Regions from separate parts of the Homo sapiens genome. Here regions 2, 3 and 4 are each linked to region 1. Evidence: promoter capture Hi-C in human tissues and cell types (Jung and others, 2019). All regions are on one chromosome and are shown on one strand. The core of a region is centred on a gene start or on the middle of the fragment in contact, and the rest is flanking DNA. Distances in the headings are between cores, read along the strand shown. Region 1 overlaps ZSWIM5 (zinc finger SWIM-type containing 5). Region 2 holds the start of KIF2C (kinesin family member 2C). Region 3 holds the start of TESK2 (testis associated actin remodelling kinase 2). Region 4 holds the start of BEST4 (bestrophin 4).

The links. Contacts are between HindIII fragments. The study calls those that stand out against the background at their distance.
Region 2: a contact is called between the fragment with the promoter of KIF2C here and a fragment that was not itself captured in region 1, in 1 of the 25 tissues and cell types used here (dorsolateral prefrontal cortex).
Region 3: a contact is called between the fragment with the promoter of TESK2 here and a fragment that was not itself captured in region 1, in 1 of the 25 tissues and cell types used here (heart right ventricle).
Region 4: the fragment with the promoter of BEST4 here is called in contact with a fragment that was not itself captured in region 1 in 1 of the 25 tissues and cell types used here (hippocampus).

The regions. Positions count from the first base shown.
Region 1 is chr1:45,199,694-45,202,986 of GRCh38, forward strand. All of the region lies in intron 1 of ZSWIM5 (zinc finger SWIM-type containing 5), which reads right to left. Among named protein-coding and RNA genes, the nearest start is that of ZSWIM5, 5.3 kb to the right of the region's middle. The HindIII fragment of the contact is 4,650 bases long and covers 1-3,293 here.
Region 2 is chr1:44,738,521-44,741,633 of GRCh38, forward strand. KIF2C (kinesin family member 2C) reads left to right here and starts at 1,317. Exons shown (of 21, transcript NM_006845.4): 1 at 1,317-1,482; 2 at 2,393-2,487. The coding sequence starts at 1,413. RefSeq lists an enhancer at 968-1,137. The HindIII fragment of the contact is 13,379 bases long and covers 1-3,113 here.
Region 3 is chr1:45,489,700-45,492,560 of GRCh38, forward strand. It overlaps TESK2 (testis associated actin remodelling kinase 2), which reads right to left and starts at 1,464. Exons shown (of 11, transcript NM_007170.3): 1 at 1,153-1,464. RefSeq lists enhancers at 1,122-1,171, 1,458-1,752 and a silencer at 1,402-1,621. The HindIII fragment of the contact is 6,056 bases long and covers 920-2,861 here.
Region 4 is chr1:44,786,651-44,789,733 of GRCh38, forward strand. BEST4 (bestrophin 4) reads right to left here and starts at 1,520. Exons shown (of 9, transcript NM_153274.3): 1 at 904-1,520; 2 at 722-816; 3 at 1-46. The coding sequence starts at 1,055. RefSeq lists enhancers at 1-62, 1-61, 63-748. The HindIII fragment of the contact is 9,775 bases long and covers 1-3,083 here.

The DNA of each region.
Region 1 (3,293 bases), core at 640-3,139:
CAAGGAACTTTTCAAAAACAGGCTTCAGAAACTCTCAGAGTCAAATATTCACTGTTTATAACTTCCTCCCTACCTAAGGAAGGCAACGTAATGTAGTCCTTAGTTTAGGCTTTGATGCCCAACCTAACTTTGTACTCTAAGATAGGAAAATGCAAAGTACTACAGAAAGACTTCCACCAAAAACAGGTAAACAATTATTTACTGAGCCTTACACGTAATAAGTGACTAAACGTTAATTCAATGACTGAACCAAGAACAAGTTAATAATAAGCTTCAAGGATAATTTTTATCTATGTAATGCTTTAAAAATCAGAAGCATCCAGAAATTGAGCCACAAATGCCAATACATCTTTTAGGCTTCAGTTACATATAAATCAATTAAGAGAGATGTCATACTACACAAATATAAAAAATGATATGACAATGTACTCATTCATTCAATAAACATTTACTGAGCACCAACTTAGGACAAACCACATTATACATCCTAAGGGGGAGAACAATTACACTGAAAACCAAAAATTAATCAGTTGACTATATATGATTACAAAAACTATCGCAGAGTAATTTAGCGTATAATCACATAATACTACAGCTAATATTTAAATAAGTATGATTTTCTTAGTCTACTAGCTCCATGATAGGCTAAAAGTGTCCAAGAAGCATGCTGCCTATGTTAGAAAGAAATAAGCCTATAAATAAACCACAAGGTAAAAAAATTCACATAAAAATTATCTGGAATAAATTATTATCTATTTCTAATATCAAGCACTAATTGTAAACCATAGTAATTTAGGGTTTGGAAACAGACATTAAAACACTGTTCATATGCTTTCAAGGTTATCCATTTCTAAAGCTGAGTTATAAATGGTGTGCATGAAAAAAAACCCACAGTAATCTATTCATTCATATATGTATACCATGAGTGCTATATCACACAGTCATCATTTTTTATCAAGAATGACAATTTTAACCTTTAAATAACCACTTATTTGTCAAAAATATTCCACATGTATTAAGATTAAATAATCATGCAAATTGAATCAAGCAAGTCTAAATAATGCTTACCTAATAAAATTAATGTGGTGATTTCCTAACTTAAGCCATACTTAATGTAATAAAGTTTAAAATTCACATGAAACTCAGATATGCAACAAGAAACAAGTATGAGAAGCTGTTATGGGCTGAATTATGTCACCCCCCAAAAAATATGCTGAAGTCCTAACCCCCAATACCTCAGAACATAACCTCAGTCCCTCATGATGTGACTTTGGGAATAGGGTTGTTGTGTATGTGATTGAGATGAGGTCATACTGGAGTAGGGTGAGCCCCTAATCCAATATGACCGGTGTCCTTATAAGAAGGCCATGTGAAAACAGACACACACAGGGAGAATGCCACGTGACCACAAAATCAGAGATTGGAATTTTGCAGCTCCAAGTCAAAGAATGCCAAAGACAGCCAACAAACCACCAGAAGCTAGCAAGAGGCAACAAAGGATTCCCCTGTAGGTTGCAGAAGGAGCATAGCACTGCCAACACCTTGATTTTGGATTTCTAGCCTCCAGAACTCTGAGACAATACATTTGTGTGGTTTTAAGCCAATCCAGTTTGTGATACTTTGTTACAGCAGCCATAGGAAACTAATACAGCATTTTTACAGTAATATATATGTTTCTCTTGTACATTATATCAATGCATTGATTTTTAAAAATTTTATTTTCTACGGTATCATATAGTAAACTTGACTTTTTTGGTGTATAGTTCCATACATTTTAACACATGTATATATTCATATAACCCTCACCATAATAGATTACTGACAGTTAATGTCTTGTTTTTTAATTGCTATTATTGAAACAAGAGAAATAAAATTGTCTCCCATAGGCATAAATTTCCAGCCTTTTCTATAATATATTTTTAAAATTCCTAAAATAAAGATAACCTCTAAAATAAAATTCACTCTCTTTAGTTTATCCATCATCTTTAAAATCCAAAGCTCTATCCTTGAGAAAGTCACCTTTAGAAAAATTCATTTAAAGCTTTCATTTGAAGAAATTGATAAATCACCATTCGTCACACAAAATAGATGGTTAAACACAGAAGATACACCTAAGTTGTAACACTCATACTACTTAATGCTATCAGTTTATTATATGCACAAATCTGGAGTTTTCCCCATATATTCCAATACCACTCATACTCAAAATTCAGGTCTCTCTCTGTTTTACAACACTGAGAAATCCATTCTTAACGTTCAGTCATTCAACAAGCACTTATTGAACATTAAAATGTGTGCATATGTGATGTGTTAGGGTGGAGGGAGAGAACTCATTGATCAGAAAAAAAAAAGATAATGTGATTTAAAACTTGAAAAATTTCTATGCTAAAAAGCACACCCGCTTAAAGGAATGCAGCTGCCTTCTGTGATGGAATACCTTAAATATCAATAAAGTTATTTTTCTCCACATGAAATTTTATTATAATTTTATTCATTCTAACTCACATATGCCACAGTTTTTTCAATGTAGATATCTTTTGTTCCCCCAAACAATATAGATTAAAACAAATTACATATAAAAATCAACAAACTGTAATACTTGTTACTGATAAATTTCATAAAAGTTATACTACAGAAAAATTTCACAGACCTGTTTATTGATGATATACAAGTGTACACAATTTTAAACTTACTACTTGATGTTTAAGTTATAGATAACTTCCTGAAATGGGCCACTTTTTATATTTCCATTATTGACTTTGTAATTGTACCTCTTCCACATAAGGTAATACTTAGCATTCTGGTTCTAGTCTTGAAGACTTCAAGAACAAATCATGTACTTATTAAAAAATGTGTAGACTAAAACTATGGGGTTTTGTTGAAGTCACCTGTCAAAATCTACTTAAAATTTCTGGATAAATACGTACATAACTAAGATGTACCAGGCGCAGAAGGCCCCTGCATGCCTTTAGCCAATTTTTAAAACTAAATATCCAAGTAAATATAACATTTCTGTGTTTAAGTGAGAAAAACTGTTAATTTTTTTTCCTTCAATCAATTCAGATTTTCCTGAGAAAAAGCAAAGCTTCTTTAAGTTTTACCAAATACAAAGAAATCAATTTAAAATACAGTGGATAGCAAAAGGGTCAAAATGTTAAAACCGTTAGTAAATTATAGGTGTCTTATTCTTATGCCATCTGCAGACTCCTGAATAAGTATTTTCCCAAAGTTTATACTACTACTATATCCATGGGCTTCTGAAACAAGTTAAAAATGCAGATGCTGAAAACATT
Region 2 (3,113 bases), core at 67-2,566, 460 kb before region 1:
AGCGCCTCTGCCCCGCCGCGACCCCGTCTGGGAACTGAGGAGTGTCTCTGCCCCGCCGCCACCCTGTCTGGGAGGTGAGGATCGTCTCTGACTGGCCGCCCCGTCTGAGAAGTGAGGAGCCACTCTGCCCGGCAGCCGCCCCGTCCGGGAGATGAGGAGCGTCTCCTCCCGGCAGCCGCCCCGTCCAGGAGGTGGGGGGAAAGCCCCCGACCGGCCAGCCGCCCCGTCTGGGAGGTGGGGGGCAGCCCCCTCCCAGCCGCCGCCCTGTCTGGGAGGTGGGGGGGGGGGGCGCCTCTGCCCGGCTGCCCCATTTGGGAAGTGAGGAGCCCCTCTGCCCCGCCGCCACCCCATCTGGGAGGTGTACCCAATAGCTCATTGAGAACGGGCCATGATGACGATGGCGGTTTTGTCGAATAGAAAAGGGGGAAATGTGGGGAAAAGAAAGAGAGATCAGATTGTTACTGTGTCTGTGTAGAAAGAAGTAGACATAGGAGACTCCATTTTGTTCTGTACTAAGAAAAATTCTTTTGCCTTGGGATGCTGTTAATCTATAACCTTACCCCCAACCCCGTGCTCTCTGAAACATGTGCTGTGTCCACTAAGGGTTAAATGGAAAAAAAAAAAAAGGAGGACAGGAACTATGTGTCTAGTTCATTATCTCCATTTCCTGGTACCATGCCTAGCAGGTGGTAGACTTCACTCAATAAATATCTGGTGAATCAGTGTCTTTCTGGAAATTTATACATAACTCCTTGAATGAGGCAACATGCTTCTGCACTATTTAATAAGAAAAACTAAGTCAAGTTTCTAATCTGTGGTTTTGTTTTGCTTTGAGAACAGGGTCTTGGCTATGTTGCCCTGTCTGGTCTCGAACTTCTGATCTCGAGCGATCACTCCCACCTCTCCCTTCCTAAGTGTTGGGATTAACAGGAGTGAGCCACCGCGCCCGGCCAAGTCTCCAACTTGCTCGAGGTCACTGAACTTGCAATTGAAGAAGCTACGATTCGAACCCATGTCTGTAGGATCCCAGAGCCCTCATTGTCAAATACATACTGAAGTTTCCCAGTTTTCGGGAACCCCGCAGTACAAGGTGACCGAGGACAATACCAGAAATGGGAGCCCCAGACCCCACGTAGCGGCGAAGTTCCCAGAAGGCACAGCGCTCGGGGGTGTGGCCAGACGCATGGGCGGTGCCAAGCGTAGGAAGATGGTTGGGAACTGCGTCTCCCCCAAGGCTCCGCAGGGCGCCGCTGACTGGCGGAAGCGAGGGCGGGGACAGCGGAATGACGTTTTAAGGACGCTTGCGCGCGGGATTTAAACTGCGGCGGTTTACGCGGCGTTAAGACTTCGTAGGGTTAGCGAAATTGAGGTTTCTTGGTATTGCGCGTTTCTCTTCCTTGCTGACTCTCCGAATGGCCATGGACTCGTCGCTTCAGGCCCGCCTGTTTCCCGGTCTCGCTATCAAGATCCAACGCAGTAATGGTGAGGAGCGGGGTCCCTAGGTCAAGGGGACTCGTGAGCGGTGAGACGACTGAAATTACTGCCCGTCCCCGGACACACAGATGGGCTTTCACTCTCTTTCTCTCCCTCCCTCCTTTTCACACGCACTCACTCCGGGTCTCTGCACTGGCAGTCATTCTTGCCTACACAGGGGTGAGAGTCCCTGCGCTGTACGTGGTCCCTTTCGCAGTCCTCTGGGAGTGGGCGGACCTTCTCCAAGGCTGGTAGACCTCCCAGGGAAGTTGGGACTTCTAAATTCACTTCCCTTCCAAAATTCTCCCCTGAAAATGCCCTGCTCTTATGGGGACCTCGGTCTCCTGGCCCCTTTACTCTCGAATAAATATTGCGCAGTTGCGGTATGTCAGGTAAACGGGACAGACAAGAACCCTGCGCTTGAGGAGCTTGTAGTCGTTCTCTCTTTTGCTTAAGCAGGTACCGCAGTTCTGGCAGGTCTGATACCCGTGTCATTAGGGAAATGGACAGATATGACCGCCAGAAATGAGTTAGGAAAACCCCAAAAGGGCCAGATCCTCAATGCTATGTTGAGGAAAAGTTCATCTAAGGGTTGTGGGGAATCCTGTGCTCAAACATACCTTTTGTATGTTCTCTTTTGTAGGCTCTATCTCTCTTTTTTTGTAGGCTCTCTTGAGTAGGGGTGAATCCTTATCCCATGCAGCTCAGTTTAAAAACCTGTCCCCAGCCCACCTCACTGTGGATATTCTAAAGGTGAAGCCCAGGAGATTTATTTGTTTCTCTTAGTTTTTTTTTTTTTTTTTTTTAAGGTAGCTGCCTGTTCCTTCAGGTTAACTCCACTTTGGGAATCTCTGTGGAATCCTAAAAGTGAAGCTCTCAGGAAAGAGATGGGTAACTCTGGTTTTTTCATACTTTATAGGTTTAATTCACAGTGCCAATGTAAGGACTGTGAACTTGGAGAAATCCTGTGTTTCAGTGGAATGGGCAGAAGGAGGTGCCACAAAGGGCAAAGAGGTAGGTTCTATGAGAATTCCTCTACCACATTTAATGTCTTCCTACATAAAGGATCTGTGCAGAAGTGGAATCTGTGAGAGCCTAGTTTCTGATGCTGTGCTCTTCTCACTCACGCCTGTAATCCCAGAACTTTGGGAGGCTGAGACGGGCAGATCACCTGATGTCAGGAGTTCGAGACCATCCTGGCCAACATGGCGAAACCTGTCTCTACTGAAAATACAAAAATTAGCCAGTCGTGGTAGTGCATGCCTGTAATCCCAACTACTTGGGAGCCTGAGGCAGGAGAACTGCTTGAACCTGGGAGGCGGAGGTTGCAGTGAGCCGAAACTGTGCCGCTGCACTCCAGCCTGGGTGACAGTGAGAATCTGTCTCAAAAAAAAAAAAAAAAAAAAATTGGCTGGGTGCGGTGGCTCTTGCCTCTAATCCCGACACTTTGAGAGGCCTGGTCTGGAGGATTGCTTGAGCTCAGGAGTTCGAGACCAGCCTGGGAAAAATGTTGAGACCTTGTCTCTACAAAAAAATTAAAAATTATCAGGGTGTGGTGGCTCACGCCTGTGGTTCCAGCTACTCGGGAAGCTGAGGTGGGAGGATTGATTTAGCCTGGGAGGTTGAGGCTGCACTGAACC
Region 3 (2,861 bases), core at 214-2,713, 290 kb after region 1:
GAATCGCTTGTACCTGGGAGGAGGAGGTGGCAGTGAGCTGAGATCGTGCCACTGCACTCCAGCCTGGGTGACAGAATGAGACTCCGTCAAAAAAAACAAAAACTAACAAACAAACCCTGAAACTTAACTTGTTCAAAACCAAATTTATTACCTTCTCTCAAAATTGCTTTTTTATGCTCCCTATTTCAGATGAGATCAGGAGCGTTGAGGGTGGTATAACCAGAGACTATGTTCCCTATTTCAATTAACACTACCGATTCACACCATCAGCCAAGTCAGAAACTTTCTACTATTCTTCTCAACTTTATTTTGAAACCTCTTGGAATTTCGGGCCATTCCCTCCCGCCTGGATGAGCACACTCGTTTTCTGCCTACCTGGCCTTTCCGCCTCCACGGTCTTCACTTTCAATCCTTCCTCTATATTTTCACCAAAGATAATGCAATCATACCAAGCTCCTGCTTACAAAACCTTCAACGGCTCCCCATGCATGCAGCATGAAGTCCAAATTCCTCAGCAAGTTCTTCTCAGAGGTATACAATTTAAAGACTTTTAAATTACGCAAACCTGGATTTCGCTTGTAGCGAAATCTGAACACTGGCTTAGTCCACTCTTCACAGCGAAGAGTAAAAAGCAGAGAGGGGAAAGGAAGGGAGACGATGACAAGCGAGGAAAGAAGAGGGGGAAGGCAGTAGGGTCTGAGGGGAGGGAATTGTTTTCCTGGGTAGAGGTGAACGTTTTCGAGGGAAGAGTGTATCGGAGGGAAGTCAAGTGAAGGAACCCAGATCTCTGAGGCAGGAGCGGGTATGCGAGCAGGGAGGCGCTCAGTGGGGAGCTGGAAGTCTCTGAAACAAGAGTTTTCCGAGAAAACGAAAGATCCCTAATGCGAGCGAGGTAACTTCTAATGGGTTCCCAGGTTCTAAGGGGGAGCAGACGTGGCGGGGAGCCTGAGGGAAGTGAGAAGGAAAGGGGAAAGCGGCCAGGAAGGGAGCGTCCGCCGCCGCTGAGAGGGGGACCTCTGGGAAGCCGAGGGGTCCCGTCGGGTGCGGAGGGACGCAGGCGCCTCTGCTCCGGGGCAGAGGAGGTGGAGCGGCAGCGCGCGCGGGCCAGGCAGGATGCCCGGGTTTGTGACCCCCGTCCTCTTTTCACGTTACCTGAGGCAGGACTGAGCAGCCAGAGGGGTGCCTGCGCGGGCAAGAGGAGGAGACGGCGGCAAAGAGGGAGCATAGTAACCCTCACAGCTCGTTGGTGGCAGCGGCTCCTTAGCCTGCGGAGGCGGTGGGAGCCCCTAGCGCAGAAGCCGGCGACTCAGCTAGGCTAGCGGCGGCGGCGAACGAGGAGACTACTGCCATGGCCCCACAGTCGGGGCCGCTCCCCCCGCCTGTTTGGCGGGGCCAGGAGGACGATCCGACCAGCGAAGCCAACAGGGCAGCTGGTAGCTCTGCTGAGCTCCCGGGCCGCGAAAGACTGAAACGCCTACCCGGCCCAGCAGGGGGGTTGGGGGCGGGGTCTCGGCTGGCCACGCCCCTCCCTCAAGCCCTCCCTCAGAGTAGCCAGTCAACCGTCAACTCCTGATAAACGAGGTAGTGGAATTGCCCAATTAGCGCTAGGAATGCCACGTGGTATGAGGGTGGGCACAATGGGCGTCCAGAAAAGCCAATCAACAGCCGTAGGTGCCAACTCCGGAGGACGAAGGGAACCAATAGGAAGGAAGTCGAGGTAAAAACAGAAGAAGCAGTGTGTGGGAAAGGCGGAACCGAGGAGGAGGGAATACACCTGGGGGAAACCCAAGTCCAGGAGCCTCTTAGAGGGCGGGGCAGTAAACACAAGATGGACCAATAAAAATGTTAAACACAGAAATGATTGGTAATTGATAAAGCCAATAGAAAATGGACTAGACTGGCGCGGCTTTCGGGTTGGTCAAGGTATAGCTGAGTAAGGAAAAGCGGTAAGAATGCTGCGTCCTGCAGGATTTCAGTATAGTGAGGAGGAAAAAATATATCAATAATACCGACTTGAAATAGTAAGAGCAATCAGTAGAGCTAAACAAAATGCTAGGGAAGCAATTAATCATGACTATGAGATTCGGTTAAGTGAAAGCTTAGAGGAGGTAACACTTCAGCTAGCTTGAAAACAGATTTTGAAAGAAAGCTGGTGGGGAATAAGTTGGGATTTTTTGTTGTTTTTGTTGGTTGTTTTTTTTTTAGAAGGGTCTCACTCTGTCGCCCAGGATGATGGAGTGCAATGGAGCGATCATGGCTCACTTGCAGCCTCAAACTCCTGGATTAAGATGATCCTCCCAACTCAGCCTCCCCGGATAGCTGGGACTACAGGCACACGCCAGCATGCCTGACTAATTTTTTGTATATTTTGTAGAGACGGGGTTTACCATGTTGCCCAGGCTGGTCTGTAACTCCTGGACTCAAGTGATCGGCCCACGTTGGCCTACGAAAGTGCCGGGATTACAGGCGTGAGCCACCGCTCCCAGCTAAGAATTCTGCCCAGCTGTTCAAGGCACATATTTCTTCACTTTTTGCATGTGCCTGGACATCAGGAGCTCATAATCTCATGACTGAAGAGACTAGAACAGGAGGAGGGCAAGAGCAAGCAGTATGGGCCTTACTGTATTAGCACTCCCAGGGGTTAGAGACCCCTTTTCAGACATCTTAAGACTTTCATCCTCCTGGAAGAGTATAAGTGGTATGCATTCCTGGTGGCCATAAAGTTTAAGAAATATGGCCAGGGCCGGGAGCAGTGGATCACGCCTGTAATCCCACCACTTTGGGAGGCCGAGGCAGGGGGATCACGAAGTCAGAAGATCGAGACCATCCTGGCAAACATGGTGAAACCTCGTCTCTACTAA
Region 4 (3,083 bases), core at 270-2,769, 410 kb before region 1:
GTGTACTGGGACCACCAGCGGTTCACCACGAGAGTCACATAGAAACCTGCTTGGCCGCCGTGATAGAGGGAGTAGGAAGGGAGAGTGGAGAGCCTGGGGGTCGGAGCGCCTCACCTCCCCCAGCAAAGGGCCTGGTCCAGGCCAGTTGAATCGTGGCAGGGGGAAGGAAACATTCAGCTCCAGTGCCCTGCTGTGCGAGGCCAGGAGGAGGGAGGAGGGCAAACTTCCTTCAGCAGAGGGAAAGTGGGGATTCAAAGCCAGGAGACTGCTTCCCAGGAGGGTGGGGAAGGGGTTGTCACCTCTGTCCAGCTCCCCTGCAGTGCCCAGGGTGGGCTTGTGAGGCCAGCAGGTGTCTTGTGCCTTGCTGGAAGTGAGGGTCCGGCAAGTGATAGGGCCCTGCCCTCTGGAAGTCCTGGACCCAGCACCCAGCTCCTGTGCCTGCTGGGCCTGCTCTGGCTGACCAGGAAGGCTCTGCCACCGTGTTGAGTAATTCTTTTTTTTTTTTTTTTTTTTTTTAGCAGAGTCTCGCTACATTGCCCAGGCTGGACTGGAACTCCTGGGCTCAAGCGATCCTCTCACCTCAGCCTCTCGAGTAGCTGAGACTGCAGGTGTGTCACCACACCATCTGTTGGGTAATTCTGACCCTCGGAGCTGTCAACCCAACCCAGAGGTCAGGGAACACAGTAAGGGGGACACAGGGAAAACTAGAAGGGAGCCTTACCCAATACAAAGGACAAGGGAATGAGGTCTGCTGAGCGGTTGCAGTACCGGGCCACCTGAGCATACACGTACCTCTGCTCCTGGGTCAGCAGCAGCCTGGGGAAGGCAGGTGTAGGCTTGGGTTAGAGGGAGGTGGGTGGCCCAGTCTCCCCACTTGCGCCAGCTCTAAGACCCTGCCCTTACCGGTAGGTGATGCTAAGCACAGCGTACAAGGCCCCAAAGAGGAGGAATTCCTTGTAGAGGAGCTTGTAGATGCTTCCCCTCCAGCGGAGAAGCAGGCCAGAGAAACCTCCGAAGCGGGCCTCCGCCACTTTGAGAGTGTATGAAACCGTCATGGTGCTGGGAGCCTGGGGCAGGAGGTCACAAGAGTTGCCCCCAGGGCTGTCGTTTAGTTCTCCAGACAACCTCCCTTCCACTCTGGTCTCACACACCCCAGCCTTCACCCTGCGTCAGTGGACAAGGGGGTAGGAGCCTGCAGAGCAGAAAAGTACACCCCACCCCCTGCAGAACTGAGCAGTACATGGGCAAAGCCAGGCTAGAGTTGGACAAGGTAGAACTGAGATCTGTGTCCCTTCATGCATGAGGTTTCCTCAAGCTCCTCTTCAGCCTGCAGGGCTAGGGATAACCAGATCCTGAACTGCTGCGGACAAGAGACGCAGCTCCAGCCCAAATCCACTGCTATTCCTTGGGGCCTTGCTTTGGAAGCTGATTAACTAGAACTACCAGGGCCCAGGGCACTCTCACCCCCATCCCATACCTGCCTACCTGCTCTGGGCAGCAGCCCGTGTGGAAGATGAACTGGGCTAGACTTCAACCCCCACAGACTTAAGTACCTCTGCAGTCCATAAAGTTAGGCTGGACTGAGGCCTATCATTGATGGATTGAAGCTGTCATCCAGCTTCCCCTGGTGCTGGGAACTGGGTGTGTCTCCTTACCCCTGTAGGGTTGGGCTGGCCTTCGAGTGGCAGAAATGCCAGCTATACTGACCCCACAGCTCACACAGACGACACCATGTCCTTCAAGCCAGTATGACAGGGGTTATTGTCCCACGTTTCAGGTGGGAAGACAGATGCATGATAAACTGTTATAATAATACCAGCTGCTGATCACAGAGCACTGACTAAGTGACAGGAACCATGCCAAGGGCACTACTAGGTCATCCTCTCAAGAAATCCTCATCACAGCACCATGAGGTAGGGAATCAATCATCCACATTTCACAGATGAGGCTCCAAGAGGTAAATGACTTGCCCGCCGTCGGCCATACAGCTAGAACATGTTGGAGGCAGGATTCAAAGCCAGGGCTGATGGACTTCCAAGGCTGGAAGTGGCCTAGCAAAGGCATGAGCTCCAGGACCCATCCTGTGCACTGGCCACACTCCCAGTCTTCTTGTACAGGGGCTTGGGGGCTTGGCCAGGCTCTTCTCCATCCATGCCACGGGGCTGACAGCCACAGATCTGGAAGCTCAGGCCTAGGAGTGCAGGCTCCGTTAAGCCCTGTGTCCAACATCCTGACTCCTAGGGGTGCCCAAGATTTGAGTGGCCACTTTCACCTCTGGAGGAAGTAATACCTAAGGCGCTGATAGAAATAGAACTTCCGCTGCCAGGCAAGGTGGCTCACACCTGTAATCCTAGCACTTTGGGCAGCCTCAACGCAGGTGGATCACTTGAGGTCAGGAGTTCGAGACTAGCCTGGCCCAACATGGTGAAACCCTGTCTCTACTAAAAATACAAAAATTAGCCGGGTGTGGTGGCACGAACTTGTAATCCCAGCAGGTACATGGGAGGCTGAGGCAGGAGAATTGCTTGAACCTGGGGAGGCGCAGGTTGCAACGAGTTGAGATCGTGCCACTGCACTCTAGCCTGGGTAATCAAAAAAAAAAAAAAAAGAAAAGAAAGAAAGAAAAAGAAAAAGAAAAAGAAATAGAATCTCAATGGGAGAATCGCTTGAACCCGGGAGGGAGAGGTTGCAGTGAGCTGAGATTGTGCCACTGCACTTCAGCTTGGGTGACAGAGACTCTGTCTCAAAAAAAAAAAAAAAAAAAAAGGCCAGGCACTGTGACTCACGCCTGTAATCCCAGCACTTTGGGAGGCCGAGGCAGGCGGATCACCTGAGGTCGGGAGTTCGAGATCAGCCTGACCAACATGGAGAAACCCCATCTCTACTAAAAATACAAAATTAGCTGAGCATGGTGGCACATGCCTGTAATCCCAGCTACTCCGGAGGCTGAGACAGAAGAATCGCTTGAACCTGGGAGGTGGAGATTGCGGTGAGCCGAGATCATGCCATTGCACTCCAGCCTGGACAACAAGAGCAAAACTTTGTCTCAAAAAAGAAAAAGAAAAAGAAAAAAGAAAAGAAAA